Linked DNA regions of Homo sapiens: all the other regions are linked to region 4. Evidence: promoter capture Hi-C in 16 types of primary human blood cells and fetal thymus (Javierre and others, 2016). All regions are on one chromosome and are shown on one strand. Each heading gives the region's core, a stretch centred on a gene start or on the middle of the fragment in contact. The rest is flanking DNA. Distances are from core to core; before and after follow the strand shown.

Region 1 (3,476 bases), core at 562-3,061, 300 kb before region 4:
ACTTGTAATCCCAGCACTTTGGGAGGCAGAGGCAGGCAGATCACGAGGTCAGGAGATTGAGAACATCTTGGCCAACATGGTGAAACCCCATCTCTACTAAAAATACAAAAAATTAGCCGGGCATGGTGGCAGGTGCCTGTAGTCCCAGCTACTCAGGAGGCCGAGGCAGGAGAATCTCTTGAACCCGGGATGAGGAGATTGCAGTGAACAGAGATCGCACCACTGCACTCCAGCCTGGTGACAGAGCGAGACTCTGTCTCAAAAAAAAAAAGAAAAAGAAAAGAAAAAGAAAAAGAAAAATATGGCCTCCAATGCTGGAGGTGTGCCTAGTGGGGGCAGATCTCTCATGAATGGATTGGTGCCCTCCCCATGGTTAGGAGTTCACAAGAGAGCTGGCTGTTTAAAGAGCCTGGCTCCTCCTTCCTCTCTCTCTTGCTCCCTCTCTTGCCAAGTGACACACCAGCTCCCCTTCCCTTCTACCACGTTTGAAAGCTTTCTGAGGCCTCACTAGGAATGAATGCCAGCACCACACTTCCTGTACAGCCTGCAGAACCCTGAGCCAAAGTAAACCTATTTTCTTCACAGATACCCAGTCTCCGGTATTCTGTTATGGTAACATAAATGAACTAATACATTTGGTTTCCTCATTTGTGTTATGGATACAATAATATCTATCTCCAGGTTTTGTTGCTTAATAAGCTAATAATATATACAGATCACACACTGTAAGGTTTCACACATAAAAAATACTTAATCAGTGGTAGAGAGTGATGTCACCAAAATGGTGGAGTAGAAGCAATCTGGCTTTACTCTCTCCCACTGAAAATCAAAATCAAATACCCAGCACCTAGATTATCACCAGCAATATCCCAGAACTCAAATGTGAGGATGAGAAATTCCCTGGGGCCACAGAGATGTAAAAAAACCCTGAGCAAATGGTAAGAGCAGACTCCTATATCTACAACACACCTCCACCAGTAAGTGGGGGCTGTTACTAAGGAAAAATAGGGCCAGATGTAATGGCTCACACCTGTAATCTCAGCACTTTAGGAGTCTGAGGCAGGTGGATTGCTTGAGCCCAGGAGTTCGAGATGACCTGGACAACAAAGTGAGACCCTGTCTCTACAAAAAAATCAAAAAATTTGCTAGGCATGGTGGCGTGCACCTGTAGCCCCAGCTACACAGGCTGAGACAGGGGGATCACTTGAGCCCAGGAGGTCAAGGCTGCAGTGAACCTTGTTCACACCACTGTACTGTCACTTGTCATCATCCTGGTGACTGAGCAAAAAAAAGAAGAAAGAAAGGAAAATAGTATAAAATAAATAAACAAAAGAATCAGGCAAATCTCTTAATTGATGTTGAAATGACAGACGCGTTGCCTCAAGAGCCTCTCTCTTGCACCTTTCCCTGTCTTCTAAGATATGGTAGCTATCCATTCTTCAACAAGTGCTGGTCGAACAGATACTATGTGCTAGGCACCACACCAGCTGCTAAGAGCAGCATTAAAACAATGAGTAATCAATGGGTATGAGTTTCTTCTGTGGTGATAAAAATGTTCTAAAATTGATTATGTTGATGGTTGCACGCAGCTGTGAATATATTAAGACATTGACTTGTACACTTTAAATGCGTAAATTAATTGTATGACATGTGAATTATATCTCAATTAAACTGTTAGTTTTTTAAAAAAAGAAAGGAACAATAGACCTGAGTCAACCACATTCTATCTGTGTGATTTTGGGCAAGTCACCTGACATCTTTGCTTCAGTTTTCTCTTTTGAGAAGTAGGAATAATAAAAGAACTACTTCATGGGGTTTCAATGAGGATTAAAAGAGAAGACATCTGTAAGGTGCTAGTTAGCACTTGGTATGTAATAAGAGGTCCATAAATGTTAGCCAACATCATCACCCTCATCTTTATTAGTATATAATGCTAAAATAGGAATATACACAGTAGTATGAGAAAAAAAGAGGAAGGAGTTCTTAGTCAAACTGGATGGGAAAGTGAAGAAGTGATGGAAGAGGAGATGGCATTGAAGCTGAGTAAGAATTCATCAGTACAAGAGGATGTGAAGGGTATTCCTGGAGGAGGAAACAGCATGAGCAAAGGCATGGGGGTGAGAAATAGCATTATTAAGGTAATGAGCGACTAGCAGTTTTGTATAAAGTGTAAGGCCAGCAACTCGGACTTTACTGTGAGGACAATAAACCTCCAGAGGGAAGCAACATGGCAAGTTGGCATCCCAGAATGGTCACTCCAGTGGAGAGGATGAATGTTAGGGAATGCAGGACAGAAATGGCAGAGGAGTTAGGAGTGAGAGATACAACAATTCAAGCGAGAGATGGTAATGGCTACAACTTGGACTTTGAGTCAAGAGTATCAAGTATCAAGGCCAGGGCTCCTTTGGTCGTAAGTGACAGAGTCACTCATAACGTCAGGGAAGGCGTAAACTCCAAGGCAGGGGCTTCAGTCTAGTCAGGCATCCCAGAAACCAGAACTGGAACTGGAAAACCAGGAGGCAAGGTGATTCTCTTTCAGTTTTCTCTCTCAGCATCCCTGCCTCCCATACTTGGGCTGCACTGGCTTCTTTTGACTGAAGCACTTCCTCTGTTACTCCTGGTTTCTGCCTTCCCATATCTTCTCCTTCAGTGTGGCCCAAGAGTAATCTCCACCCTTGTGCTACCTGAACTGCCACCTTCAGAGGCCACCACCAGCTGCCTTCTTCCCTCTGTGTCACTGGATTCCAATTTCTGAGATAGAATCTGAATGGCTCAGCTCATCCTTTTGAACTTGCCTTAGGACAGTTCAGGAAAGTCATAGGTCAAGGACCAGCCCAGAAATGAGGGTGGAGGCTGTCTACAAAGTAGAAAACGGAGTCATTATAAGTAGCAGGTTTCTGCTCAAGGATTCATCTTACAGGCACCTGAAATATGTCTCATATAATAGGCCTAGAGGGGAAGGGATACATTTAAAATTTATTAGGCAATAAAACCAGCATTATTAGGTAATTGTTTGAATGTGGGAGGGGAGTTGACCCGGAGGCATGGATGACATCAGGGGTTGGCTTGGGTAACTGGTTGATCTCTCAGCTCCACTTTCCCCTGTGTTGGGACTGTTTTCAGGTTCTCAAGAAGCTTTTCCCTTGATTGAGTTAGGGTCTGCAGGAAACGAATGGCACTCTCACACTGGAACATTGGAAGAGAGTTTAATAGGAGGAAAATGGGGCAGGGTATAGTGTAACCATGAGGGACGGGGCAGTACCATGGGGCCAGAAACAGCGTGTGATGTCCAGCCCTAGCCCTGAAGGGTGAGGAAAGGGGCAGTTATTGGAATCTAGAAAGGGAGGACTGTTTCAAGAAGCCTGCGCGATGGGAGCCATGGACTTTTGTGGAGGACACAGACAGCCTGCGGCAAAGTTGCAGCAAGGGAATGGCGGGGGAAAGAAATGCTCTGACCTGGCTCTTCTCCCTCCCTC
Region 2 (3,128 bases), core at 629-3,128, 280 kb before region 4:
TGGGTGTTGGGCTGAACTAGGGGGTCTCTTGGGAAGGGTTAGTATTGTGGAGACCCTGTAAACCTCTCCCTTGTACTGGAGAGAGCAGAGGAGAGAGTGTGGAGTTGGGAACCAATGTGACCTGATCCTCAGGCCCAGCTCTGCCACTTGCTGGCTCTGTGCCTGACCTCTGGGGCTTCCTGCTCCTTCTCCTAAAATGAGCAAAGTCATCACTACTTCCTAGTGTCATGGTGATGATTAGATGAAATTAAATAACAGTTGTGAGGATTGAGGTACAGAGAGGTCAGGTAACATATCCAGGGCCACGCAGCTAGGAAGTGATGGAAACAGGATTCCAATCCAGCTGGGATGCTTCCTTCCGGTATCTGCGCCAGCCACTGACTGGATGGTCTGGGGCGAGTCTGTGGGTCTGCCCCTGCTCACAGGGACTTGCGGAGGCCTCAGTGGGAGGTTATCACTGAGACCCCCATGAGCCTGGTTCTTGTTGTTGGCTCCAGAAAGCTCTTTCAGCTGAATACCCAGGCAGCCGTGCCAGGGCAGGGATTATAGCAAGTCCCATGTGCCGCCTGGATGCTGCACTCGGGCAGCCTCTCACGAGCCCAGTTCGCCAGGGTTCTGTGTGTGTGTGTTTGTGTAGGTCTCCCTTGTGAGTTACAAATGTCAGCCTCCTCTGAGAGGCGGGCTGCTGAGCAGAGGGGCCGACAGGGGCTCCTGGAGGGAAGGGGGTTTCTTCGAGGGAACAGGTTGGAAACATCTGGCAGGGGTGTGTGTGTGAAAATTACGTCCTGCTGCTAAAGCACATTGTATGTTCTCAACTGAAAACTGTTATTTTTTGCATGTTTCCTCCTGAGTATTGATCAGAGTCAGCTGCTGAGAGTTAAAATGTGTATGTGTGTGTGTGTGCCTATTTGTGAAATAACCAGTTTCTAAATTTGGTACCTAACTTCAGTGAAAAGTTAGTAATTCTGTTCTTGGAGAGCCAGGATCTGTCATTTGGATTTGTGGTTATTTTATTAATAATAAACTTTAATGGCTATTTCATTCAGAGAGCTTCTTTTATTAATTTCTTTGACCTTTATGTATTTTTAATCACCTTACCTGTATACTTTAATGGAAGTTGCAAACTGGTGGCCTGTGGGCCAGATGCAGCCCAGAGATACGTTTTGTGTGCCTTGAACAGTGATGGCCCATAGATAGTTGGGTTTTTTAATTTTTAAATGTTCATATGTTACCAGTACCTAACCATGAGAATATTTCCTATTTTAAAACAATTCTATACTAATTTCTGTTTTTTTTGTTTTTGTTTTTGTTTTTTTGTTTTTTAATCAAAGTTCAGCTGCTGAGTTCAGGTTCAAGTTTTGTAAGAATTTGCTGGATGTGGGAACAGCTGTCTCCTCTAGACAGACCCTAGCTCTCCAGTTGGCCACCACCCCTGCTGCACTTAGTGGTCTCAAACCTGGGCACTTCACCCTTTCACACAACTGGCCAGGCTGCAGGAGACATTCGACTTTGGGAGCCCTCCTTTATGATATGCAAATTCCCATAGGCTTTTCCCAGTTCTGCCTCCACCAGTATCACGGTGGAGGCAGGGCAGGGCTTACGGTCCCCACTTCACAGATGCAAAAACTGAGGTTCAAAGAGCATAAGTGACACGACTAGTACCAAAGCCAATAAGTTGATGCTAATCCTTCTGTCTCTAAGACTAATGTACTTTTCAGAGAAAAAAAAATAATTACTTGGAAGTGTAAGTATATAAACCTTAGGCTCTGACAGACTCACTTATGTTTATATTTAGATGATTCTTGCTCTATCTCAGCTCAAGAAACCATTTGCCTTGCTTCTGTCCATTTCTAGGTATCTGAATTTCAGGTCTACCCTGTCTAATAAAGTTTTGTTGTTGTTGTTGTTGTTGTTTTTAGCCATGTCAGGGGCTGCTCTAGATTTGTTAGAAATGATGTAGGTACAGGCCAGGCGTGGTGGCTCTCACCTGTAATCCCAGCACTTTGGGAGACCAACATGGGCAGATGACGAGATCAGGAGTTTGAGACCAGCCTGGCCAACATGGTAAAACCCCGTCTCTACTAAAAATACAAAAATTAGCCGGGTGTAGTGGCGCACTCCTGTAATCCCAGCTCCTCAGCAGGCTGAGGTAGGAGAATCATTTGAAGCTGGGAGGCGGAGGTTGCAGTGAGCTGAGATCGCACCACTGCACTCCAGCCTGGGTGACAGAGCAAGATTCCGTCTCGAGGAAAAGAAAAAAAAAAAAAGAAATGATGTAGGTACAGAATCCACCTTGTTTTCTGCCTGTGCTTCCTGGCATGTCGGGAAACCCCAGAATGTATCTTCCTATTATTGGGGAAGTGTTAGGATCCATTAAATGAGAGTGAAGACAGGTTTCCCAGCAGAAATGGTACATGCTCCACTCCCTGGTCTGAGGGGACCTCACAGGCACCCAGGAGGTTTCTAGAAAAGAGAGAACCTGGATGAGAACAGCTTAGGTCCCCCCAGAGGCAGCTGAACATAGCCACTCATGTCTCTGAGAGTAGGGTTCATTGCCGGGGCAGGAGTGGGGGTCCCTCTGCCCGCCATTTCAAGAACCTTCCCTTGGAGGCTCCAGGTGGCTCCTGGTGTGGCAGTGGGGCATGGAGTGTGGGGCACAGCTCGGTGTGGTGGCCAGGAGTTAGCTTTGTCCTTGAGCACTGGCTCCACAGCAGAAACAGCAATGATCATTAGTTTATTGAGCTCTTACTGCGTGCTATGCACTGTGCCCATCTCAGTTCATCAGCACTGTAATCCCAGGGAGTGAGTGCCCTTACTGTTGTCATTTTACAGATGGGAAAACTGAGGCTCAGGAAACTTAAGTCACTTCCCAGGCCTATACAAGAAACAAGTGGTGGGACTCAAACTCAGATTTCTGACTCTCCAACTTGTGCTCTTAGCTACCATGTTTTATTGACTCCTCTGGGCAAGTCTTTTAACGTCTTTTGGCCTCCATTTCCTCACCTGTAAGTGGGAATAATACCTTCTTGGCACACGAGCAGAGTCAGTTTTCCCACCCATAACTCTTCCTGCCACCCCTCCCTCGGGGCGGTTGTCAGACACTGGTGTGGTGTGAGCTATCTTTCCCG
Region 3 (3,439 bases), core at 763-3,262, 280 kb after region 4:
TTTAAAACACTCTTTGGTCCTTCTCCCCTCTTTAAACTCAAAAGGGTATAATCATCCCCGGGAGAGAGCACTCCTTTTAAATGGGGCTACTCATCCTGGCTTGGCTAATGGTGAACCTACCTTGTGGGTTTTAAATCAACCGTGACATCAGGTGGTATTGGGTGCCTGAGCTGGCATTTTGTGTAAGTCCAGGAGCCCTTGATAGTGTGCGTCACTGGGGTTATTGATCGTGGGAAGAAGACAGCTTGGCTGGCATCTCACCTTTTCCTCTGAGTGGAGAAGCTGACTTGCTTTAAGTGCCCAAAGCAAAATTCTGAGTAAGGGTAGATTTGCTCTGTTATTGTTTTTTGGAATCTTAAGGCAAGAGAGTGTCTACTTGTTGGTTTAGAACCTTTGGAATAGGTTTTGACAGCCTAACTCAAGTTAATCCAGTAGCTTCTCTCTCTAAGCCTGTTGTTAGGGTTTGTGTGCATTTTGAGAGAGAATTCTATGATTGGGTTGTCAGTCTGGTAAGGCTAGATGATGACCCTTTCTCTGGAGCCTACGTGGATCTCTGAAGTGCTTTTCCAGCCCTGGTTTTATTTACAGCTTCGACAAATTTAAACGTGACACTAGTGGAGTGGCTGTGTGGTCTTGGGAATTTTTGTGTTCTGTGATGCACATGTTTTTGGGAGTCTACAGAAATGAGTACCTCATAAGCAAACTAAAAGCTTTCCAAAGCTTGCTGTAAATGCCTATTTTTAGCCTTACTTTTGGCTCAAATGTTGGTGTTTTAGTTCTTTAAGGGACACATGCAGTAACTAGTAATAAAATATGTTTCGTGATATCTCTACTTTCTTGTGGGGTTCTGTATTCTGGTTTAAGCGTCCAAGTCTTACATTTGTAGTTTTAAGTCTTGGGATTTGCATTTTGGTTTTTTAGATCTCCCTCCCTCCCCAGAGTATTTTTAAATGTTTAAAATTTTTGTCTTATCCTAGCCATACCCCTTTTAAGTATAAGATCCAAGACGTCTAAGTTAAGAGATGATACATAGCGAATATTCTGGGGTCAAACTGAGTGGGTTCAAATGCCACTGTACCACTTGTTAGCTGTGCTTCCTTGGGCAAGTTATTTAACCATTCTATGCCTCACCTTCTTAATTTGTGTAATAGGTATTTATGATTCACCTGCCTCATGGGGGTATTACCAGCATTCATTGTTATGATAAGTGTATTTAGCCCAGTGCCTGGCAGGTAGACATTGTTACTTACTCTGGGTCTTGGTGGGACTTTTCCCTGGGTCTCTGGTTTTCTCTACCTGTAATATGATGGGGTTGGTGAATGCAGATCTTTCCTTTTCTTGTGTTATATAAGTACTCCGTGAAATGTATGGGATCTGTCTCCTTAAAACTTGACTTTTGCTTATCCACAGACATGAAGGGCATGGATGGATAATTTAAAGGTTGCTGACTCTTAAGAATTAGCTATTTTTTGCTTTGGAATGTGGTGAGATGAATTTTAAAAAAATAAGTTTTAACTTTTTAGTTTGCCTTTTGTAAAGATTTTCTTTGGGGGGAGTTGCACGTGTGCTCTCAGGGATATGAGGAAAAGCCAGCCTAACTGGACTGAAAGTTTGCTGTGGCTGGTGCACATGTAGTGCCGTGAGACTTGAGAGTACAGATAGTCCCCAACTTATGATGGTTCAATTTATGATTTTTTGACTTTATGTTGTTGGGAAAGTGATACACATTTATTGGAAACTGTACTTCAGGTACCCATACAACCATGGTTTTTCACTTTCAGTACAGTATTCAATAAATTAATTACATGAGACATTAAACGCTTAAAATAGGCTTTATGTTAGATGCTATGGCCATCCGTAGGCTAATATAAGTGTTCTGAGTGCATTTAAGATAGGCTGGGCTAAGTTTGTTTGTTTGTTTGTTTGTTTGTTTGTTTGTTTTTTTGGAGACAGTCTGGCTCTGTCGCCCAGATTGGAGTGCAGTGGTGTGATCTCGGCCCACTGCAACCTCCACCTCCCGGGTTCAAGCGATTCTCCTGCCTCAGCCTTGAGAGTAGCTGGGATTACAGGCATGTGCCACCATGCCCGGCTAATTTTGTATTTTTAGTAGAACGGGGTTTCTCCATGTTGGTCAGGCTGGTCTCAAACTCCCGACCTCAGGTGATCCACCTGCCTTGGCCTCCCAAAGTTTTGGGTTGGGATTACAGGCGTGAGCCACCGCGCCCGGCCCTAGGAGCTACTTCTGATCCTGCTCATGACCAGCAATGTGGACACCGGCAAACGCTTTGCTTTCTCTGTGCCTGTTTCTTCGTCTGTAAAATCAGGGTATTAGACTAGGTCTAAATGTCTTAAAATTTTTCTAGTATCAAAAATTTTTTTCTAAAACTCCCTCCCCACAAAAGAAAGAAACCAAAGTAGAGCTTTATATATGTGTAGCTTTGTATTTGCGTTGTGATTAGGAATCCAAGCTCTCTGGAGGCTGGAGAAACTCTTCTGGCTTCAGGAGCCTAAGTCGATGGCTTGGGGGTGTATAATGGAGCAGCCAGACATTATGTGCCTTACAGTGTCTGAAAGCACACAGCACTGCCTGAAAATTTCCTCCACCAAATAAAAACTGAACCTAAATCTAACAGAACCATAGATCCAACTGCCAGTTTATAGGGAAATGGGGCTACAGGAACAGACTAATTAGCCATGAGGTAGGCAGTTATTCAGTTTCTAAATGTGAGAAATTCTACAAGACACACTATTTCCAATAAATAAATGGCATTTTTTAAAGGGAAGAACTGTTACAGATGAAGAAAGTTGAGACATCAGTCGTGCATTGTTGTGGATCTTGTTTGGATCTTGATTCTTGACCAAATGTCCAAAGACATTTTGATGACAACTGAGGAAATTGACTAAGTTAAGAAATTATCTTATTTTGTCAGGGGTGATAATGGTATTATGATTGTTTTTAACTGTGTAACTGGATATATTGTGCACCCCCACCTAAGAACTGTTAGGTTAGTCTATTACATAAGACTTAAGGCTTTTTCCTATTGTGCACTTGATCTTAGCCAAAAGGCCAAGAAGCAATATAGTGTGAATCACTTTCTCTTCTTCTAAGGAAAGGTCACAATTAGGACACCCTTTGAAGGGGAGAGTGGGAGGCAGCTTTCATCGGGAGCCTTCAGCTGGCCTGGCCCCTTTCCTTTTGCACAGGTAGTTTGAGTTTCATACTAACCCGGAAGTGAGTGCCTGCCAGGTAGGGGAAGGTTTTTAGGAAGTGGTTTTTGGCCCTTTGGGAGGTAGAGGGTAGTCACAAGCTTTCTTGAACTCTGAACCTCCTGAGGGTCGGGGTCTTTCTGCTGACCCACCCACTGTCTATAGTGGGACCTGAACTGGAGTAAGCAATCTTAATAGCTGTTACTGAGCACCCATTCTCTTTTCTGGGAGG
Region 4 (3,346 bases), core at 791-3,290:
TGATTTGGCTTTAGGACACCTAAGGGAGATCCCAGGATATTGGAAGGGAGGGGTGGAAATCCACGGTTCTCCCGCTCTCGCTGCACCCCACACACTTCCGCCAGCCTCCCAACCTGGTTTAAACATCAGGGCTTGGATGCAGGCTTGGGGCCCCCTAAGCCGGAGCTGGGAGCCTCAGATACGGAGGTAAAAGAGCGGGGAGTCGAGCTGGCCTAGCGTCCTCCTTCCCGCTCTTTCAGCAGGAACCAAGCGGTGCTACTTGAAGGAGGCGGCGACGCGTGGGGGCCGGGATCCGCCCAATAACAACTTCTTTCGAGGCGCCGCACCTCGAAAGAAGCCGGCCTGCACCATCCCCAGTCCGGGGCAGCCGTTTAGAGACTCGATGCCTATTTATCTTTCCCTCGTCCCTGGATGAGCTTTCGTCAGTTTACCACAGGCCCCCGCAGGTTGGATAAACCAGGTGGGGCGCTTCAGCTGGCTCCACTCCGCTACGGCCTTAAGCCCCCCAACCTAGAGAAACTGATTGGCCAGCCTGAAAACCCAGCGCTCAGAAGCCCCCAGCCCCGGACAGCCAGACCGAGTGCCAGGAAGTGTCACCCTAACCGGAGAGGATCAAGAAGGCCAAGACGAGACTGCGCTCTCCAAAGCTAAAAGAAGTGGCTCTTATTTACATGCAAAGCCACTGAAGTCGTCCTCAGAACCAGTCCATGGGGAGAACCAGAACTGGCCCTGGACTGAGTAGAAGACCCGATCTGTTTTACCTCACCTCCACCCTGGACTCCTCAGATAGGTGCTTTTCCTGCCCCGACCCACTCTGGGCCCTCAGTTTCCCTATTTATACAATGATGGAAGTAGACTAGCCGGTCCAGCAAAGGCCCTTTGAAAACAGGAACCGAGCCCGGGCACATAAATTCAAACTCAAAGTAAAGAACTTTAACACATATTCTTAACCTGGCTTCCAGGAGAGCCCAGGAATGAATCAGGACTTCTCCAAATTGGAAGCAAAACCTGTGGTGTGTGCATTTTTGGAGGGTCCGAGGCTCCAAACAGATTATTCACTCAGTATTACAAACACTCTCCCGTATTACAAATGAATTCTATGACGAATCTGCCTCCCTCCATGCACAGGATCGCACGCTGTGACCAACCATCTCAGAACTCTTCCCAACCTTTCCAAATCGGACACAGGACAACACAGCCTCCTTCGACTACCTGCATGGCCTGAGGCTGCTCACCGCTCCTGCACCCTTGGCTGGAGCATGCAAGCCCCAGGACTCACCAGCTCCCTTTTCCGCTTGCTCTCACGGCCGCCATCCGCCTTCTTGAGTTCAGCCTTGAAGGCCTCGGGATCGCCAGACTGTGCATCCTTGGCCAGCACGTCCATCAGGTAGGCGATGTAGCTGGTGGCTAGGCGCAGAGTCTTGATCTTGGAGAGCTTGGTGTCGGCCGGCACGTTGGGGATGCACTCGCGCAACTCCGCGAATGCGCTGTTAATGCTCTCAGTGCGTCTCCGCTCCTTCTTGGGTCCTGAGCCTTTCCGCCGGCCAAGACGGCCGCCAAGCGCCTCCAGCCGCCCGGGGCTCTGCCCAGGCCTGGCGTCAGGACCATAGGCGGTGGCGGCTGCAGCGGCCGCGGGCGGCGGCCCGCCCGCAGGGAAGTCCGGGGCAGCGTCAGCCGGGCTCAGCAGCCAGCTCTGGAAGTAGGGCCTTTCCTGATGACAGCGCGAGGCCGGACCGAAGAGGAAGGGTTCGTGGAGCATGGGGTGCGCAGGGTGCGGGTGGTGATGGTGGTGATGGTGTGCGTAGCTGCCCACGAGGTTCATGTTGGAGCGGCTACTGGCCTGCGCCGCCAGCCCTATTAACGCCGCTCCATGCGCCCCAGAGACTGCCGGGGGCCACCTGTGGGCTCTGGAGCCACTACTGGGCGCCGGCTTTGGGAGAGTCCGGGCAAGGCTGAAAATGAGACGCGCAGCCCACTGTCTTCTTACCGGTTTCTGCCGCGGGCGAGGTCGCCGAAGCCCAAAGACCTGTTTAACCCTTCTGCGGACTCCCCTGCGGATCTGGCTTATATAAGACCGCGGCTTTGATGTCAACCTCTCCCGGGAGCCAATGGCAGGGGGGCGGGGATAAGGAAAAGGGGGAGTGGCTATCCCAGGTTTTACGCTCAGCCCGCGCCACTCTAGTCCGCCAGCAGGGACTGGGAACCGGCCCCGCCTCTGCCCCTCCCACTCAGCTCCCTGCTCTGCGGGCTTAGGGGGGCGGGCTGCTGGGGGTGTTGAGGGGGCGGGCACGGGGACTACGTACTTGAGGCACAGGACGGCCAACGCCCTGGACTGTTGCTGCCACCCCCTCCCCACGGATCCAAGGAAAGGAATCCAGAATCACCAAGCGAAAAGAAGGCCTACACCTAGAGCCCGCCTTTTGATTTTACAGACAAGGAAACTGAGGCCCAGGGAAAGAAAGGTTCTTGTTTCTAGACTGTCTAGAAGTCTAAATAGGAATTCCAGCAGTTCCCAGTCCCGAGCTCCAACTGCTCTGCTCGGCGTCAGAGCTAGAAGATGAGAGGGCGCTGCTGAAGACAGGATAGGCCGCTAACGTTCTTCCCTAACACCTTCCAGCCCTCCGCCCCCACCCCCACCCCTTAGTCATCGGCCCTTTCTGGAGAGACTGGGAGCCGCTTGTGCACGGGGTCGTTACCAGCCCGCCAATTCTGACCCAGCCTCAGGCAGACGGGCACGCAGCTACTGACCAGCGAAGAAGCCTTTCGGAGGCAGGGGTAGGGGTGGGGCGGGAAGGAGGAGGCGGACTCCAGGCCCACGGGCATCGACGGGTTTGTTCCCGGCTTGAGGGTCTGAGATCCACTCCGGCCTCCCGGGTGCCTGATCCATTCCGAAGGCCAGCCCGGCTGGCGCAGAGACAGTCTGGCGTCCGCCTTGGGCCCGGGGCATCTGGCCAGCAGGTCTCCTCTGGTCTGTCCGCAGGACTCGCACCGAGACCTGGGAGCGCGGCTACGTCGGGCCGCTCTACCCAGATCATCACTCCTTAAGAATCTTTGGTTCTTTAAAGACACCGGCCCCGAAGCTCACACCTCGAGACACCAGCATTCGGCGTTAGACACACGCAGAGGGGACCAAGACTGCACAGCATCCGCGAGGCTCGCACAGGCAAACGCGACGTCCGGCATCTCTCACGCATCAGCGCAGAGGCGCGACTCGGCTGCACGACCCTCCGAGATTTCACCCCGGGGGTAGGGCCATTCCCTGCCAGCCGGACTCTCTCCACTGTGGGCTTTCCCCAGGCTCGCGTTGGAATCTGGGAATCCCGGAGTGGTGACGCTTCAAGCTGGG
Region 5 (3,200 bases), core at 40-2,539, 320 kb before region 4:
CCTTATGTGTGTTGGTTTTGCTCCCAAGTTGACTCTGTTTTCCCCTGAGTCATAAGCTGGCTCACACTATTCCAGGCATCACTCAGGGAAAAAAAATCTCCAGCAAAAGAAGAGTTTTTTTCTTCCTGTGTGTCTCTTTGTAACAGAAAGGAAGCCTTTTCTAGAAGTCTCTCCACAGAATTGCACTTACATGTCATTGGACAGAATTTTATCACATAAGCAAACTTCTGGGTGTAACTGATAAATATCTTTATTATTTTGATTATAGTGATAGTTTCACAGCTGTGTTCATGTGTCAAATTGTATGCTTTAAATGTGCACAAGATATTGTATGTGTCAATCATACTTCAATAAAGCTGTTTCAATAATTTTTGCATAAGTAGCAAATAAATATGCTCTCCTGGTAAAAAGTTAAGACATTATATATAAAGCGAAACTATCCTTTTCCACTATCTCTCTGTCCTTCCAGTTAACAGATTAGTGTGTATCTTTACAGATCTTTTTCTGTACATTTATGGATATGATGTACCCACGGAATATATAGAGTACTACCTGTTTGTTATTCTTTTTCCATAAAAGTCATGTTGTATGTAAGATGTTGCAATTTCCTTTTTAGAACACGATATTTCTTGGAGCTGTTTCTAAGTCAGTATTTAGAGGTTCACCTAATTATTTTTAGCTGGATAGTATTGCGAGATACAGGTATAGCCTGGTTTATCCAGACATTCCTCTCTGCTTTCGTTTGTTCTCAACTTTCCATTATTTCAAACAGTCCTTCAACAAGGATCCTCAGGCAGGCCTCTTTGTACAAAGTCTCTGACATGGATCCCAGACAATAGGGTTTGGACAATTTTAATTGCTCTCCAAAGCGGCTGCACCCGCCAGCAGTGGTTAAGAGCACACATTTTTCCAACAATGTTTGATGTTCTCAAATTTTTGTTTGCCATATTATGGATGAAAAATGATATGTCATTCTTTTAATTTGTATTTTAAGGGGAGTTTTCACAGAAGAAAAGATTTCTGCACCCCAGTCTTGGCCATTCTAATCTGAGGCTTAAGAATCTGAGTGATTTGGCCAGGCTCAGTGGCTGATGCCTGTAATCCCAGCACTTTGGGAGGCTGAGGTGGGCAGATCACTTGAGGTCAAGAGTTTGAGACCAGCCTGACCAACATGGTGAAACCCTGTCTCTACTAAACATACATAAAAAACTAGCTGGGCATGGTGGCGCACACCTGTAGTCCCAGCTACTTGGGAGGCTGAGACAGAAGAATTGCTTGAACCTAGGAGGCGAAGGTTGCAGTGAGCAGAGATCTCACCACAGCACTCCAGCCTGGGTGACAGAGTGAGACACTGTCTCGAAAAAAAGAATTAAAAGAGAGAGAGAGAGAGAATCTGAGTAATTTTTTCCAGGTGATGTGCAGTGAGGTTTGGTGATGTCTCTTCCAGCTCTGTTGTTCTGTGATCCTGACACTCCTGCCTCCTCCTAGGCATGGGACTTGTTTAGGCCCAAGGTCTACACCATCTTTGCCACTTAAATTGCTGCTTTCTCCATGGGGGAAGATTTTTAAGACAAAGAAGTCCTGGTGACTCTGGCCTTTTACTGCGTGTGACTGATGGAGCCATATTTCAGATGTCCCACTGAGGAAATCCTACTCCTGGGAAGGAAGAGACTAACCCATGCTGCTCTATTGTTTGCTGGACACTATGCTGGGCTTTGTTGTCATTTGATTTCTACTGGGTCATTTAAACATCGCAGCAACCTTGGGAAATATTATTGTCCTCATTTTACAGATGAGGAAACTGAAGTACACAGTGACTTAGTAATTTGCCCAAGGTCACATAGCTACTATGGAGCCCCTATCCCAGATTTGACAGACTCCAAAGCCTGTGCTCTTTTCATTATACCACCTGCCTACAAATTAAGGTGTCTAAGGAGACAGAGACCATGGATGGCCAGTGCCTCCTTTCCAGAGATGCTCAGAGGAGTCTACTCACTTTGGCTCCCAATTCTCAGCCCCTTCCTGCCTTAACAACCCAAGTTCCTGACTCTTGGAGGTCTCTAGAAGGTAAGAGTCATATTTTATTTGACTTAGCATGTAGTAGCTAGAAGATGAGCATCATATTTTATTTGACTTAGTATGTAGTAGCTTCTTTGATCAATCCTGGGGAATGTGTTCCTGAAAATATGGACTGGGGAATAGATGGATTGGGGTACGAGAGAGAGAAGGATTAAGTTCCACCTTCTGATCATCCTTGCTGCTTCCACCTTCTGAAATTCATGCAGAATATATCTATAAAAGTGACTTGTCTCAGTGAATTACAGTCAATGTTTCAATTTCTTGAGCTTTTTTTTTTTTTTTGGATTCTGAGAAACTTTAAAAGAATAGTATATGCCAAATTACCATGTATCCGCCGTGTAAAAATAACCAAAAAAAATTGTCAGATTTCTTTTTTTTTAATAAAATAAGCAATATGTCACTCATCTGAAGATGAAATCCCCTGATTCCCATTCCAGGTTTCATTTCCTCCTCACCTCATCCCCCAGGAACCTCAGATATAAATTTTGATAATTTCTGCCTAATCTGTTTTTATACTTATAAGTATCCATTAAATACATGTATCATGAACAAATAAAAATAACAAAAGTAGTTTATATAAATGGTATCACACTGTACCTATTATTCTGCTGCCTGCTTTTCTCCTCTTTATGCTGTGCCACTGAGAGCCCTTTAAAACTTAAGAATCATGTCTTCTCTAATCACCACATCCCTGGTTGCCTTGTACATTCCAAATGCTTAATAAATGAGAAAGGAAAGAAGGAAGGAAGGGAGGAGGGAGGGAGGAAAGAAGGAAGAGAGAGAGGAGGGAAAAAAGTAGGGAGGAGGGAAGAAAGGAGGGAAGAAGGAGAAAAGGAAGGGTGGAAGGAAGCCCAGCCAACAGGGTCAGTCTTTCCCATCAAAACTTCTTGTGTGGCTCCCAATTAGAACGGAGGGTAATTACAAACGTATAAGTCCTCCATGTTATGATTTCCCTGATTCTGAGAACTGTTCACATCCCATTAGAGCAGACAGCCTCTCTATCCTGCGATCTGCTCCAGGGAAGTCCCAGGCATGACTGCAAGAAGTTCCAGGCCACACAGCCGCCTAATGTGCTTAGCTCAACTGTGGCTCAACTCTCGCTGGTCATAAATCAACCAGGC

What was found. The method cuts DNA at HindIII sites, captures the fragments that hold promoters and counts their contacts. A CHiCAGO score of 5 or more calls a contact.
Region 1: a contact is called between a fragment that was not itself captured here and the fragment with the promoter of HAND1 in region 4, in 2 of 17 cell types (total B cells and naive B cells). The highest score is 5.5, in total B cells.
Region 2: a fragment that was not itself captured here is called in contact with the fragment with the promoter of HAND1 in region 4 in 2 of 17 cell types (total B cells and neutrophils); the score reaches 5.8 in total B cells.
Region 3: a fragment that was not itself captured here is called in contact with the fragment with the promoter of HAND1 in region 4 in 1 of 17 cell types (total B cells); the score reaches 6.1 in total B cells.
Region 5: a fragment that was not itself captured here is called in contact with the fragment with the promoter of HAND1 in region 4 in 2 of 17 cell types (neutrophils and total B cells); the score reaches 6.2 in neutrophils.

What each region holds. Positions count from the first base shown.
Region 1 is chr5:154,175,913-154,179,388 of GRCh38, forward strand. All of the region lies in intron 1 of LOC124901118 (a long non-coding RNA gene), which reads right to left. Among named protein-coding and RNA genes, the nearest start is that of GALNT10, 13 kb to the right of the region's middle. The HindIII fragment of the contact is 2,643 bases long and covers 491-3,133 here.
Region 2 is chr5:154,199,684-154,202,811 of GRCh38, forward strand. The region is part of intron 1 of GALNT10 (polypeptide N-acetylgalactosaminyltransferase 10); the gene reads left to right. Among named protein-coding and RNA genes, the nearest start is that of GALNT10, 11 kb to the left of the region's middle. The HindIII fragment of the contact is 4,862 bases long and covers 1-3,128 here.
Region 3 is chr5:154,758,014-154,761,452 of GRCh38, forward strand. The region is part of intron 1 of LARP1 (La ribonucleoprotein 1, translational regulator); the gene reads left to right. Among named protein-coding and RNA genes, the nearest start is that of LARP1, 4.4 kb to the left of the region's middle. RefSeq lists a silencer at 54-243 and an enhancer at 3,080-3,189. The HindIII fragment of the contact is 2,588 bases long and covers 719-3,306 here.
Region 4 is chr5:154,476,187-154,479,532 of GRCh38, forward strand. HAND1 (heart and neural crest derivatives expressed 1) reads right to left here and starts at 2,041. Exons shown (of 2, transcript NM_004821.3): 1 at 1,280-2,041. The coding sequence starts at 1,822. RefSeq lists an enhancer at 1-715. The HindIII fragment of the contact is 6,833 bases long and covers 1-3,346 here.
Region 5 is chr5:154,159,482-154,162,681 of GRCh38, forward strand. No RefSeq gene overlaps it. Among named protein-coding and RNA genes, the nearest start is that of GALNT10, 30 kb to the right of the region's middle. The HindIII fragment of the contact is 6,524 bases long and covers 1-3,200 here.